5 separate regions of the Homo sapiens genome follow, and regions 1, 3, 4 and 5 are each linked to region 2. The links are contacts of gene promoters, found by promoter capture Hi-C in human tissues and cell types (Jung and others, 2019). All regions are on one chromosome and are shown on one strand. Each heading gives the region's core, a stretch centred on a gene start or on the middle of the fragment in contact. The rest is flanking DNA. Distances are from core to core; before and after follow the strand shown. Region 1 overlaps GALNT8 (polypeptide N-acetylgalactosaminyltransferase 8). Region 2 holds the start of DYRK4 (dual specificity tyrosine phosphorylation regulated kinase 4). Region 3 has its middle 5.4 kb from the start of FGF23. Region 4 overlaps TIGAR (TP53 induced glycolysis regulatory phosphatase). Region 5 has its middle 11 kb from the start of TIGAR.

The links. Contacts are between HindIII fragments. The study calls those that stand out against the background at their distance.
Region 1: a fragment that was not itself captured here is called in contact with the fragment with the promoter of DYRK4 in region 2 in 1 of the 25 tissues and cell types used here (H1 embryonic stem cells).
Region 3: a fragment that was not itself captured here is called in contact with the fragment with the promoter of DYRK4 in region 2 in 4 of the 25 tissues and cell types used here (H1 embryonic stem cells, mesendoderm cells, neural progenitor cells and 1 more).
Region 4: a fragment that was not itself captured here is called in contact with the fragment with the promoter of DYRK4 in region 2 in 1 of the 25 tissues and cell types used here (dorsolateral prefrontal cortex).
Region 5: a fragment that was not itself captured here is called in contact with the fragment with the promoter of DYRK4 in region 2 in 1 of the 25 tissues and cell types used here (mesendoderm cells).

Annotation. Positions count from the first base shown.
Region 1 is chr12:4,751,484-4,754,307 of GRCh38, reverse strand. The region is part of intron 6 of GALNT8 (polypeptide N-acetylgalactosaminyltransferase 8); the gene reads right to left. Among named protein-coding and RNA genes, the nearest start is that of GALNT8, 32 kb to the right of the region's middle. The HindIII fragment of the contact is 4,171 bases long and covers 1-2,824 here.
Region 2 is chr12:4,560,802-4,563,551 of GRCh38, reverse strand. It overlaps DYRK4 (dual specificity tyrosine phosphorylation regulated kinase 4), which reads right to left and starts at 1,344. Exons shown (of 15, transcript NM_001394779.1): 1 at 1,269-1,344. The coding sequence starts at 1,306. RefSeq lists a silencer at 1,215-1,509. The HindIII fragment of the contact is 2,169 bases long and covers 891-2,750 here.
Region 3 is chr12:4,383,743-4,386,497 of GRCh38, reverse strand. No RefSeq gene overlaps it. Among named protein-coding and RNA genes, the nearest start is that of FGF23, 5.4 kb to the right of the region's middle. The HindIII fragment of the contact is 5,845 bases long and covers 1-2,755 here.
Region 4 is chr12:4,328,484-4,331,183 of GRCh38, reverse strand. All of the region lies in intron 1 of TIGAR (TP53 induced glycolysis regulatory phosphatase), which reads right to left. Among named protein-coding and RNA genes, the nearest start is that of TIGAR, 8.6 kb to the right of the region's middle. The HindIII fragment of the contact is 8,404 bases long and covers 1-2,700 here.
Region 5 is chr12:4,308,715-4,311,414 of GRCh38, reverse strand. No RefSeq gene overlaps it. Among named protein-coding and RNA genes, the nearest start is that of TIGAR, 11 kb to the left of the region's middle. The HindIII fragment of the contact is 5,918 bases long and covers 1-2,700 here.

The sequences.
Region 1 (2,824 bases), core at 161-2,660, 190 kb before region 2:
TGGGACCTGGAGGAACACACGGCCCCGAAAGGAAGGACACAGGCCTGTGTCCTGTGTCCTGGCTTTGCCACCTACTGATTGTAGAGCACCAGGGTCTCAAGGGAACATAGGAAGTACACAGTGAGTGGTTACAGCAGGCCTTGAGTGAGACCCAGTTCTGTGCTACCTTCAGGTCTGACCCAGAGCAGTCACAGTGGCGGTGGTCACGGGGTTGCTTGTGTCACTCCACCCCCAGCTTTAGGTAGCTCAGAACAGAAAGAGAGATAGACTCCATTTGTTTGGGAGACGTAAGGGAAGAGAACAAGGGTCTCTGCCTGGTAATCCACAGGATTCTCCCGGATCTTATCCAAGACCATCAAGGTGGTACTTCTATGAGTCTGGAAGAACCACAGCATTACTGGGCTTGGGGTGCCCCCTAAAGCAGGTACAGCTTAGACCATAACACCCATGTCTTTTTGAATATCTGGAAAGCCTTCCCAAGAAGGATGGGTACAAACAAGCCTAGACAGTAAAGACTACAATAAGTAGTCTTTACTTAGAATAAGTAGACTAACTCTTCAATGCTCAGACACAGAAGAACATTTACAAGTATCAAGATAATTCAGGAAAACATCATCTCACCAAATGAATGAAGGGACCAATCCTAGAGAAACAGAGACAAGGGACCTTTCAGATGGAAAATTCAAAATAGCTGTTTTGAGGAAACTCAAAGAAATTCAAGATAATTAGAGAAGGAATTCAGAATTCTATCAGATAAATTTAACAATGAGATGGAAATAATAAAAAACAATCAAGCAGAAATTCTGGAGCTGATAAATGCAACTGGCATACTGAAGAATGCACCAGTATCTTTTAATAGCAGAATTGGTCAAACAGAAGGGAGAATCAGTAAGCTTGAGGACAGGCTATTTGTAAAATACATAGTCAGAGGAGACAAAAGAAAAAAGAATACAAAGCAATGAAGCACGCCTACAGCATCTAGAAAATAGCCTCAAAAGGAAAAATGTAAGAGTTACAGGCCTGAAAGAGGAGGTAGAGAAAGAGATAGGGGTAGAAAGTTTATTCAAAGGGATAACAACACAGAACTTCCCAAACCTAGAGAAAGATATCAATGTCCAAGTACAAGAATGTTACAGAACACTAAGCAGATTTAACCCAAAGAAAACTACCTCAAGGCATTTAATAATCAAACTCCCAAAGATCAAGGATAAAGAAAGGATGCTAAAAGCAGCAAGAGGACAACGTACAATGCAGCTCCCATACTTTCTGGCAGCAGACTTTTCCATGGAAACCTTACAGGCCAGGAGAGAGTGACATGACATATGTAAAGTGTTGAAGGAAAAAACTTTTACCCTAGAACAACATATACAGTGAAAATATCCTTCAGACATGAAGGAGAAATAAAGACTTTCCCACAAAAACAAAAGCTGAAAGACTTCATCAACACCAGACCAATCCTACAAGAAATGCTAAAGGGAGTACTTCAGTCAGAAAGAAAAGGATGTTAATGAGCCCTAAGTAATCATCTATAGGGATAAAATTCACTGGTGATAGTCAGTACACAGAAAACCACAGAATATTATAACACTGTAACTGTGGTGTATAAACTACTCTTATCCTAAATAGAAAGTCTAAATAATGAATCGATCAACAATAATAACTACAAAACCTTTTCAAGACATAGTACAGTAAGATATAAATAGAAACAACAAAAAGTTAAAAAGTGGGGGGACAAAGTCAAGGTGTAGAGTTTTTATTAGTTTTTTTTTTTTTCAATTGTTTGGTTGTCTGTTTATGCAAATAGTGTTAAGCCATCATCATCTTAAAATAATGGATGATAAGATAGTATTGCAAGCCTCATGAAAACCCCAAACCAAAAAACATACAACAGATACACAAAAAAATAAAAAGCAAGAAACTAAATCATATCAACAGAGAAAATCACCTTCACTAGAGGAAGACAGGAAAGAGAAGAAACAAGAAAGAAAAGACCACAAAACAATCAGAAAACAGATAACAAAATAGCAGAAGTAAGTCCTTTCTTATCAATAATAACATTGAATGTAAATGGACTTAACTCTCCAATCAAGACATAGAGTGGCCAAATGAATGAAAAAACAAGACCCACTGATCTGTTGCCTATAAGAAACATACTTCACCTATAAAAACACGCATAAACTAAAAATAAAGGGATGGAAAAAGATATTCCATACCAATGGAAACCAAAACAAAGCCGAGTAGCTATATTTATATCAGGCAAAATAGATTTCAAGACAAAAACTATAAGAAGAGACAAAGAAGGTCACTATATAATAAAAAAGGGGTCAATTTAGCCAGAGGCTATAACAATTTTAAATATATATGCACCCAACACTGGAGCATCCAGATATATAAAGCAAATATTATTAGAGCTAAATAGAGAGATAGGCCCCAATACAGTAATAGCAGAAGACTTTAACATCCTATTTTCAGCACTGGACAGATCTTCCAGACAGAAAATCAACAAAGAAACATCAGACTTAATCTGTACTATAGACAAAGTGTATCTAATAGATATTTACAGACATTTCATCCAGTGGCTGCGGAATACACTTCTCCTCAGCACATGGATCATTCTCAAGGACAGACCATATGTTAGGTCACAAACAAGTCTTAAAACATTCAAAAAATAAAAATAATCGCATGCATCTTCTCTGACCACAGTGGAATAAAACTAGAAATCAATAACAAGAGAAATTTGGGAAACTATACAGACACATGGAAATTAAACAATATGCTCCTGAATGACCAGTGAGTCAATGAAGAAATTAAGAAGGAAATTGGA
Region 2 (2,750 bases), core at 95-2,594:
CACGACCATATTCTTTGATGTGGTCATTGCATTTCTATGAATGCAGCCTCCACCAGCATTTGCTCTTTGGGGAGCCATCACAACACACTCACGATGGGCTTAGAGTCAGCTAAAACCACTAAATCCCAGCACTGGGTCCTCCACACGCTTGAGGACTATGCATTCTAGCCAAGTTGCAGGCAACAATATGTGGAGTTGGAGAGGGCAAAGTCAGGGAAGAGTGGCTGGCATATTGCTAGAGAGTCCCTTCCGATTTACCTCTGCTTTCTCCATAAGGACCAAAACAAACAAGAGAAACAACAGATTTAAGTAACAGAAACAATAAGGTAGAGTGCATGTTTGAAGAATTTCTTCGAACTCCTAGGTTTTACATACCGACCACATGTAGGTGATCAAATCGCTCAAGCAAGACAAAGGACATTTTCATTTGTTGTTTCCACGGTTTGAACTTTTCCACTAAATGGCCTCCTGCTTTTGCCGAGTCTCCACTTAAGCCTGGACAGTGAAGCTTGAATTAATATTGGTGATGCTGTCCGTTGCTTAAGACATGTCAGAGGGGTCACGGTTTTCCTAAGCTTTGAGGGGCTGCTGGACATTTCAAATGCAGCAAATGTCACAGAATAGCCTTTAAAAACCCTCAAATTGTGCATTGTTCATCTCTTTTTTAAGGAAAGATTTGCTAATATTGGGAATTTCCTGAGTGGCAGCTCTGGGTGTGTGATCTACACACACCTTCGCGCGCTTTTGTGTCAGGGGCTGGGCCCTGGTTGAGCACAGAGGTGCCCGGGCATATGGGCTGGGTGGGAACATGAGTAATGCCTGCCAGAGCCTCATCCACGCGAGGCGTGTGGTCGTGGACCCACTTACGACTACCAAGAGGACATGCAGTAAAGAAGAGAAAGAAAGGGAGGAAGAAAGTCTGGCGTCCCAGTGAGGGCTGGAAGCACAGTTCCAGGATAGGTCTGCTGAGTTCCTCAGAACCCCTCGCTCCCTGTCCTGCACTCAGCTGGAGTCGCCGATGCGACAGCATCTTAACATGGAAGTATACTGACGTCGGATTCCGGGGATGCAGCTGCTGCAAAAACTACAACTGTATTTTCTTGTCCGCGCACCACAGCCCGCCTCTCTCTGACCCACATTCCCCGGTCAGCTCTTGCATTCTGCACGCTTTTCATTCTCCCCCCACGACCCCGTCGACCAGAAGCTTCGTCGCCTGCCTCGTACTCGCGCCTGACTGCTCGTGAAGTACGAGCCTCCGCGGCCCTTACTTTGTTCCGGTGCGGATAGGCGGCGGGAGGAGCTGCATGAGGCCGGCGCTGACCGCCCGCCGCTGCGGGAGGCTGTGAGAGCCCGGCAGAGGGCAAGGGACGGCCACGCCCTCCTCCCGTCGCTATAGAAACGGCTCCCGCCCTTTTTATGACTCCAGAGCTGGAAGGGCTTTCTCAGGCTGTGGTCCCAAACCACCTTGCAGAGTAGCAGCCTGAAGAACATACTCCTCGTCCTCCTACTCGCATTCTCTTGCCCCAGTTCTTTAAAGTATAGGGCAAGAATTGAACAAAATCCCAGCATAAAGAACTTAAAGTTGGTTGCCCAGACCGGACACATGAAATTATCCCTACTCTCTCCCCTTCTTCAAGCGAAGCATGTGGTTATCAGAATTACATCACAGAAGTTCTGGCCGGGCGCGGTGGTTTTACACCTGCAATCCCAGCACTTTGGGAGGCCTAGGCAGACCACTTGAGGTCTGGAGTTCGAGACCAAACTGCTCAAAGTAGTGAGACCCCCCCGCCCCTGTCTCTATTTAGACATTTTTTTCTGTAATCCCAGCACTTTGAGAGGCCAAGGCGGGTGGATCACGAGGCCAAGAGATCAAGACCATCCTGGCCAACATGGTGAAACCCCGTCTCTACTAAAAATACAAAAATAAGCGGGGCGTGGTGGTGCGTGCCTGTAGTCCCAGCTACTTGGGAGGCTGAGGCAGGAGAATCGCTGGAACCCGGGAGGCGGAGGTTGCAGTGAGCCGAGATCGCGCCACTGCACTCCAGCCTGGCGACAGAACGAGACTGCATCTCAAAAAAAAAAAAAAAAAAGAAAAAAAGAAAAAGAAAAAGAAAAAAAGTAAGTACATAGCAAAAGTTCTGGGTAAAATCCATATATCAGCTGAACACTTTTTGAGTGCTTACTCTGCACCAGATTGTAGAAAGCATGAAAAGGGAAATTTGTAATTGAGTGGCAGTAGGTTGACCTGGAGGTGCACAGTCTGGTCCAGGCAGAAAAGACATTCAAATGAAGCTTTCTGAAAGAGCTGAGTTGAATCTGAGTCTTCAAGGACAGGCAGTAGTTGTCTACGTAAAGGAGGCAAGTCCTATTCTGAAGGCCAGAGCCATAGAAAAGCTTGGTACCATTGTGCCAGCACCCAGTTTAGTGGGGCAGGGATCAAAGTTGCACGTGGGCAGAGACAAGGTTGAAGCAGCAGGAAAGGGGGAGTCAGACACCAAGTAGGCTATGAACTCGACCAGGGTAAGGTGTGTATGTGCAGACTGCAGAGGGGTGTTCATGCTGACTTTATTTTATAAAACCCTCTGTGGCAATAACAATGGAAGTAGGCCCGAGTAGGTTAAGAATCAAGGCAAGGATGCCTGTTAGAAATAGTGAGTGATGATGTTTCAGAGTAAGGGAGAGCACATGGAAGAGTAGTTTTGAGAAATTTAGGAAATGGAGTAAGACTTGGTGACTGGATGTGAAAGTCG
Region 3 (2,755 bases), core at 191-2,690, 180 kb after region 2:
GGTTTTTGCATCAGTTTCTTTTCAGTTACCCTCTCTCTTCTAATGTTCTTCAGAATTCTGATACTCAGCATAGCTGTTTTATACTTTTGAACGACTTTAAACTTCTAAATAAATAAACACTCAGATATGCATATTTAAATACCCTCAAACATTTCCTATTCTTATAAAAACTTTATGCTCTGTATTAAGTTCAAAATAGGTTGCAAATTTTATATTACACGTTTGAAAATCGTAGCTTATTTTCCAAAGGCTTCGGTAAATAGCACTTCTATGCCCATCCTTGTCACCTTGTCATCAGCAGTCATTACCAGCTATCAGTGGCCATATTTATAAATTAACAAGTGTGGTCTTTATGAGATCACTGCAAGTGTGGAGATTTATTGGCCATAGTGGCAGAAGTGAAAACTATCACAGCTGAACCGTGGAGAAGCACCGCTACATCTTCTGTGGATTCAAACCCCTTTCCAAGCCTTGATGTCCCCCCGCTGCTGGAATTCCAGGCTTCCTTGCCCATTGGAGAAGGCTGCCCTGAAGACAAGCCCTCCCGTGGGCCTTTATTTTGGAAAGGCTGCCATGACAAAAATAAGCTGGAAATTTTGTCTTGGGGAGGAGAAATTGAACATGTCATTTGGAGGGAAAGAAGGGAACTGGAGACTGATTCTATGGGAGGTATTGGTTCTAGACTAAAAGGGGGTAAGTTCTTGATGTGGCAGAGAACTGCGGTAACCCCAGCCACCAGTGCCATCCCATGCAGGGCCATTATTATATGTATATGTGTGTATGTATCTGTTTATATGTATGTATGCACATGTATATAATGGGTGTGTATGTGTATATACACATACATGTAAACATAAAGTCCTGTGGCCTTGGGAACCACCACAAAAGCCTCTGGGGCAGAGCTTGGAAGGAAATGAAGCTTTCAGAAGAGCTGACCACTTTCAAATACAATGGAATGGAATAATTTAAAAGAATGAGGTAAAGATATGCATACTGACCTGGAAAGGTGGTCAAAATAGACTTCAGCGGACAAAGTGGGTATATATTATATACGGTATGCCCTCAATTTTGTCTTTTAAAAGTGCGTATTTTTCTGGCTGATAGATGCAAAATTTTTTTTAAATTTTAAAATAAAAGTGCATATTTAAATATATATACTTATATATAATATACACTTTAGTATTAATATATAATGTTAAATATGTACCTATTTAGAAATACATAAATATAAATATATACATATTTTATTAAATATTTATTAATACATTATATATTTTATTAACATGTATTATTGGCAATATATTAATGTATTTTATTATATTAAATATAATATATATTTTATATATATGCCCTAAAGCTATAATTTGTCTTTGATAACATTTTACCTCTAGAGGTTACAAACTATATTGTATATTCACTTTCTACTTCATACATTTCTGCATTGATCTACTTTTTAATAAAAACAGATTTTTTAAAGTCATGTTTTTTTTCTCTCTTTTCTTTAAATTCCTACGATAACAGAATGTGTGTATCAGGAGCCAGGATGCTCTTGGGAAAGTCGTCCCCGACACCCCCCAGACCTGCCCATAGGACTGTTTTGAGCCTCAGAAGAGACAATAGATATGAGTGTACTTTATGGGCTGTGAAGTGCTAGACAAATACAAAGAATATTCTGCCTAGTAGATTGCAAATTCCCTGAAGATCAGGACTGTACCTTTTCATTCTCAGACTTCTCTAAAGATTTTCTACAAGGTAGTAGCCATATAACAGGCTTTCCATAAAAAGTTATGTGTTGATTGCTTGGATGCATTAAAGCAAGAGAGAATCAGATTGGCTATAGGGAAGCACATTTTTGCTGTCAAGATGACACTGGGATGACATTTTCAGATGAGATACAGGAATGGCACCTCTCCAGAGAACTTCAAGAAGCCAAAAAAAAAAAATTTTTGTTCTAGATGGCTTAGATATCCATCTCCCTGAACGCTGGAGGTCTGGACGACATGTAATGCTCTGAGAAAGCAAGAGGGCAGGGACACCGTTACTGAAATGGTGGAGACAGACTCAGGAGGAGTGAAGGGACAGGGAGCAGAGGCCTGCCAGGTCCTTCCAGGATCTCAAAAAGAAAAGAAGGCTGCAAGCCACCGTGAGATCACCTTCTCTCCTATCTCCCAGCTTTTTTTTTTACCTTGATTCCTCTGACATTTTTTCATCATAGCTAAGGACAATGAAGTTGATGTTATTGTTTGAAAATTATTGCCCAGTCTTTACTTTGAGTGAACATGATCTGGGTGAGAATCTTCTTCAGTACCTTCTCAGAGCAGATGCTGATAAAAAGAAGTCAGGAGATGAAGGAAAGTAATGAACTTGCAGGAATACTTTTTTTTTTTTTTTTGACAGGGTCTTATTCTGTCACCCAGGATGGAGTGCAGTGGTGCAATCTCAGCTCACTGCAACCTCTGCCTCCCAGGTTCGAGCAATTCTCCTGCCTCAGCCTCTCGAGCAGCACGCTCGAGAGGCACGCACTCATGCTCGGCTAATTTTTGTATTTTTGTAGAGACAGGGTTTCACCATGTTGCCCAGGCTGATCTCAAATTCCTGACCTCAGGTGATCTGCCCGCCTCAGCCTCCCAAAGTGCTGGGATTACAGGCATGAGCCACTGCGCCCAGCCGGAATACAGATTCTTATAGGCCCTTATCTATACTAAGAGCCTTGATTCTATGAGCGTAAATGCAGGGACTAGACTTGATGCTTCCA
Region 4 (2,700 bases), core at 75-2,574, 230 kb after region 2:
ATATCATGTGAAACTTGTAACACACTTCATAATCCAACCTGTAAAAACAATTTATTCTAAACTAATATTTGCAATTGTCTTCTTTAATGAAGAGCTAAGAATTTCAAACTACTCCAAACTAAAACGTGTAGATCAGGAACCAATCTTAAGTGAATTGCAGGTGGAAAATCCTACTAAAAAATATAATGCAAATAACATTTCAGCCAAATAATTTTGTTAAAAGAAATATATTGATCAAAACTACTCTTACTGGCAGCAGGAACAAAAACGTGAGAGTCAGTCTATTCATTGCTGGACTGAATGAGCAAGTGAAAGAGAATCTGAATGGAATGGGAGAGACGTGCACAAACCTTCAGAACCCCCTGCCTTCTCTTAGTTCCTAGGTCTTCAGCAGTTATTTTTTGTAGTACTGACAGCTATCTCGCAGACCAACTAACTGCACACTGAACTGAGGTTTGAGTACTACACTTTTAAAAACTAAAATACCAAAACAAATCAAAGCAATCTGAACCAACCGGAAGGGTAAAAGAACTGGAAACTTTGTCAGAAAATAACTGGGGTTACTGAGGCTGGAGGGGGAAAAGGGCGGGAAGTGCATGGGCAAGACTGGACAGACAGCAGGATAGGTTAACAATAATGCAACTTTCAAATACATGAAAAGTAGAATCAAAGAGAATTCAGCTGAAATTTCTTTGAGCACTAATTAAATGTTTGCTGACCCAACCTACCACTAGAATTGCTGGGCCATAAGGTATGCAAATACCAGCTTTATTAGGTAATGCCAGTGTCATAGCAGGTTACACCACCCTGTAGTGTGGTGTACCACCCTCAACAAGATTCAGTGATGGAAGGTTTCTTCAATTTGTACCAATCTGGTACCTGAACAATTCATCTCACTTTAATTTTAATTTGCATTTCCTTGATTTCGATGGAAAATGATCGCTCCATTGTTTTTAAGTGAAGCACTAGTTTATAATAATTAAAATGTCACATAGGACTGATTTACTCAGATCTAGAAAAAAAAATCTACCAGACCTGGAAGTCAGAATCACAAACTCAGGCCTCATCCTGGAATCTTGCCGCTTGTTTACAAAAACAGCTGTATGCCAACCTCTGCCAAGATACAGATTGCTGGATTTGGCCAATATGAATGTTCTTTAAGACCCAACACAAGACTGGTTCTTTTAGGTAGTCTCCCTCCCCAGTACCATTCCCCATCTACCTACTCTATTTAATACCCACACTCTATACTCCCATGGTCCCCTGGCACTACCAACATAAGTTTTCATCTGTGTGCTAATTGACTTTTTAGCTCTGTGTCTATCCTGGCTCCAGTTCCTTAAAGGCACAAGCAGGGATTGCATACCCTCAACATGCCCAGGGCCTGGAGAAAATGCTGGGAAATGACAGAACTTCAGTGAATGTGCTTTTACCTAGGGAGGGTCATCTGGAAATACCTATCAAAATGACAAATCTGTTTACCCTTTTATCCAATAACCCAATTACTGGGAATAACTGAATTCACTCATATTTAAAAGATTATTTGTGGCCAGACGTGGTGGCTCATGCCCGTAATTCCAGCACATTGGGAGTCCGAGGTGGGTAGATCACGATGTCAGGAGTTCAAGCCCAGCATGGCCAAGATGATGAAACCCCATCTCTACTAAAAATACAAAATTTAGCCATGCGTGGTGGCGGGCGTCTGTAATCCCAGCTACTCGGGAGACTGAGGCACAAGAATTGTTTAAACCCGGGAGGCAGAGGTTGCAGTGAGCTGCAATCACACCACTGCACTCCAGTATGGGTGAGAGAGCAAGACCCTGTCTCACAAAAAAAAAAAAAAAAAAAAAAAAAAGATCATTAGCTACAGTATTATTTCTAATAGCAACAGATTATAAACAACCCAAATGTCCATAACTCATTCCTTAACTATGGCCAGAATAACCATTATTTATATTAACAAATAAACAGTGACATATCTACCTAATGGAATCCTATGTAAATGTGTCCTTTAAAGAGAGAGATTATATGTAAAGATATGGAATGCTCACCAAGATATATGATTAAGTAGAAAAAGCAGGGTATAGAGTAATATAAAAAGAAAGCTACCCTTTTAGAAAGGAGGGAAATAAACATCTGGATCTGCACAAAGAAACAATGGAAGGATAAACATGAAACTAATAAATGTGGCCACCTATTGGTTGGGGGAAGAATAGGAAGACTACGGAGAATTGTTTTGATTTCTAAATATGTAGATGTATTAGCTTAAAAAATAAACGTATGATAAAGAAATAAAATTACACAGAACTGGCCAGGCACGGTGGCTCACGCCTGTAATCCCAGCACTTTGGGAGGCCGAGGTGGGCAGATCACGAGGTCAGGAGTTCGGGACCAGCCTGGCCAACAAGGTGAAACTCCGTCTCTGATAAAAATACAAAAATCAGCCAGGCATGGTGGTGAGTGCCTGTAGTCCCAGCTACTCGGGAGGCTGAGGCAGAAGAATCGCTTGAACCTGGGAGGTGGAGGTTGCAGTGAGCCAAGATCATGCCACTGCACTTCAGCCTGGGCAACAGAGCAAGACTCTGTCTCCAAAAAAAAAAAAAAATACATGGAACTATTTATACCTTGGTAAAAAACCAACAGCACTGATTTGCCATTATCATTGTTGTTAATATTAATAAAAGATTACCTAGGCCACAT
Region 5 (2,700 bases), core at 78-2,577, 250 kb after region 2:
ATGTATGATACAGTCCATAATATTCCAGGCAAGTAGCAAGCACTGGGGGGGACATTGGCTAGAAAGGCCAATCCTCTTGTTCTTGCCAGAGCCCTGACAGAATGCTAAGGAAAAGAGAAGACCGCTAGGCCCTAAAATCCTAGGTGTCCTGGCCCTAATACCTAGGCAGTGCCATATGGAAGCAAATCTTCCATAGTCCCTTCATGATGAGCTTACAGTGACATATGAAAAACATAAGTGAGTGACTGCTTTTAAAACCTGTGGTGCTTCAAGATTTTCTGAGGGTATTCACCAAGATGTCCAGAGGCTCACAGAGCTGAGCAATGAATGGAAGCCTGCAGAGGCCAGCAGTTGTCCTTCATTGTTCATTTGTACATTGCTGGGTGACCCTCAGTGTGGCATTCACCCTTGCAGGGCCTCAGGCCATTGCATCCATGGTAAAATAATATTTTTGGAAATATTAATCAGCATTTTTTCCTACAGTATTTTTCCTCTACGTTTTTGGGCCCTTCCTCCTGTGTCCCTTTTTTCGGGGCAAGGAAGGTGGCCACGAAAAACCAAGAAAAAGAATATCTCTTCCTATAGGATAACAAAAGGAATCTTTAAATAGCAAAGGCTTGGGAGGCTGATGATACAAGCAAGGCTTCCCTGCCTCTGGACTGAGATTCTCTGGGCTTGGTGGGGGAAGGAGGGAGCGTTGGGGGAGAAATAATAATAACACAGATATTCGTGGGTCCCTGAAGAATAGGGACAAACTAGATATGTGATTTTGTTTGTTTGTTTGTTTGTTTGTTTTTGTTTTTTTTTTTTAGATGGAATCTTGCTGTGTCACCCGGGCTGGAGGGCAGTGGCGCAATCTCGGCTGAATGCAACCTCCGCCTCCTGGGTTCGGGTGATTCTCCTGCTTCAGCCTCCCGAGTAGCTGGGACTACAGGCACATGCCACCACGCCCAGCTAATTTTTTGTATTTTTAGTAGAGATGGGGTTTCACCATGTTAGCCAGGATGGTCTTGTTCTCCTGACCTCATGATCCGCCCACCTCGGCCTCCCAGAGTGCTGGGATTACAGGTGTGAGCCACCGCGCCTGGCTGTGATTCTTGTTTTAATTGACATAGGTTTGGGGATTTGGGAGGAAAGCAGAACCCATGGCTCCTTCCCAGGAGTTTATGAGCAACGCATTTATAACCTGAATGGAATGAGCATGAAGAACAGCCAAGGGGCAAGGCAAAGACGCTGGAAAGAAAAGGCTACTTCCTTGGTGTACATTCACTGACAAACTCCTCCTTAGATGACAAGGCCCTTTACTTTCTTCATTGACTTTGTCTTCATTAAAAAACTATCCCCTGATGATTTCACTAAGTGATGTCATCATCCAACCCCCCCCACCCCCTGCAACCTTCCTGCCCACACTGGGCTAAAAGTCTCACTCTTTCAGCTCAATGCTCAGTAAGCAAAATATGGATCAATAAAGTAGCCCAGTGTAGCAGAAGATGCATGATATTTGAATTCAGACACATCTGGGATCCAGTCCTAGCCTAACTCTTTGTGATAAGCCAAGTGAGCCGTGTGACCCTCCATTCACTTAGCTACAAAACAAGGTACCAAATTCACCAGAGTTATAAAAGGATTATAGGAGAGGCTTGTGGAAAGCTCTTTCAAAACTACAAAACCCCATTTCACAGATGAAAAAACTAAGTCACTGAGTTTACTGTGAGTTGCTGGGTGGCTAAGTAATGAGCCCAAGGTTACAAAGCGAGTGGGTGGCCGGGGGGGCATTCCAGAGCAGAGCATAGAGCACTTGTATTCTGGGCCAACCACCAAGTAGCAGTTGTCTTTTTATCTGTCTCTGTCTTTAGCCTTTGAGATCAAGGAGAGCAGAGATCTCATCCCTGGAAAAGCAAGTACTGAGACACATTTGTTGAATGAGGGGTCCCATACGGAGCACCAGGCACGTACCCAGCCCTCATTTGTTGAATAAACGAGCAGTGCCCAGGAGCCCTGTGTGGGAAGGGGATGATGAAGAGTAGCGATTTTCAGTGAATGGGTTGACCGAAACATAGCCACAGAGATTTGCACTTTTTCAACAAATATAGAAATCTCACAGGTTTGTCTTCTCATGGAATCTCCATGGTGCCAGGAGCACTAAAAATGACTCTCCAGACAAACAAAAGCAGGAAAAGCTGTCTGGACACAGTGGCTCACACCTGTAACCCAGCACTTTGGGAGGCTGAGGTGGGAAGGATCTTTTGAGGCCCAAAGTTTGAGAGCAGCCAGGGCAACATAGTGAGACACTGTTTCTATAACACATTTTTTAAAACAATCTAGATGTAGTGGTGCATGCCTGTTGTCCCAGCTACTTGGGAGGCTGAGGTGGGAGGATCACTTGAGCCTGGGAAGTTGAGGCTGCAGTGAGTTGTGATCACGCCACTGCCCTCTAGCCTCAGAGACAAAGGAAGACCCTATCTCCAGAAACAAAAGAAAAGAAAACCAAAAAACAAAAAGCAGATCTTTACCACCCCACCTTATTTGGGCCTACCTGCAGACCTGGGCGTGGGGCTGAATGTTGGGATCTCAAAGGAATTTCAAAAATCTGGCCCAGCCCCGGGGTAATCTGATAACTAAAAACTCATAAAGACATAAAGAGATCTTAATGCTTACTGAGGCAGTACGGTCTTTCTTCGTCTGAGAAGGAGAGGTTAT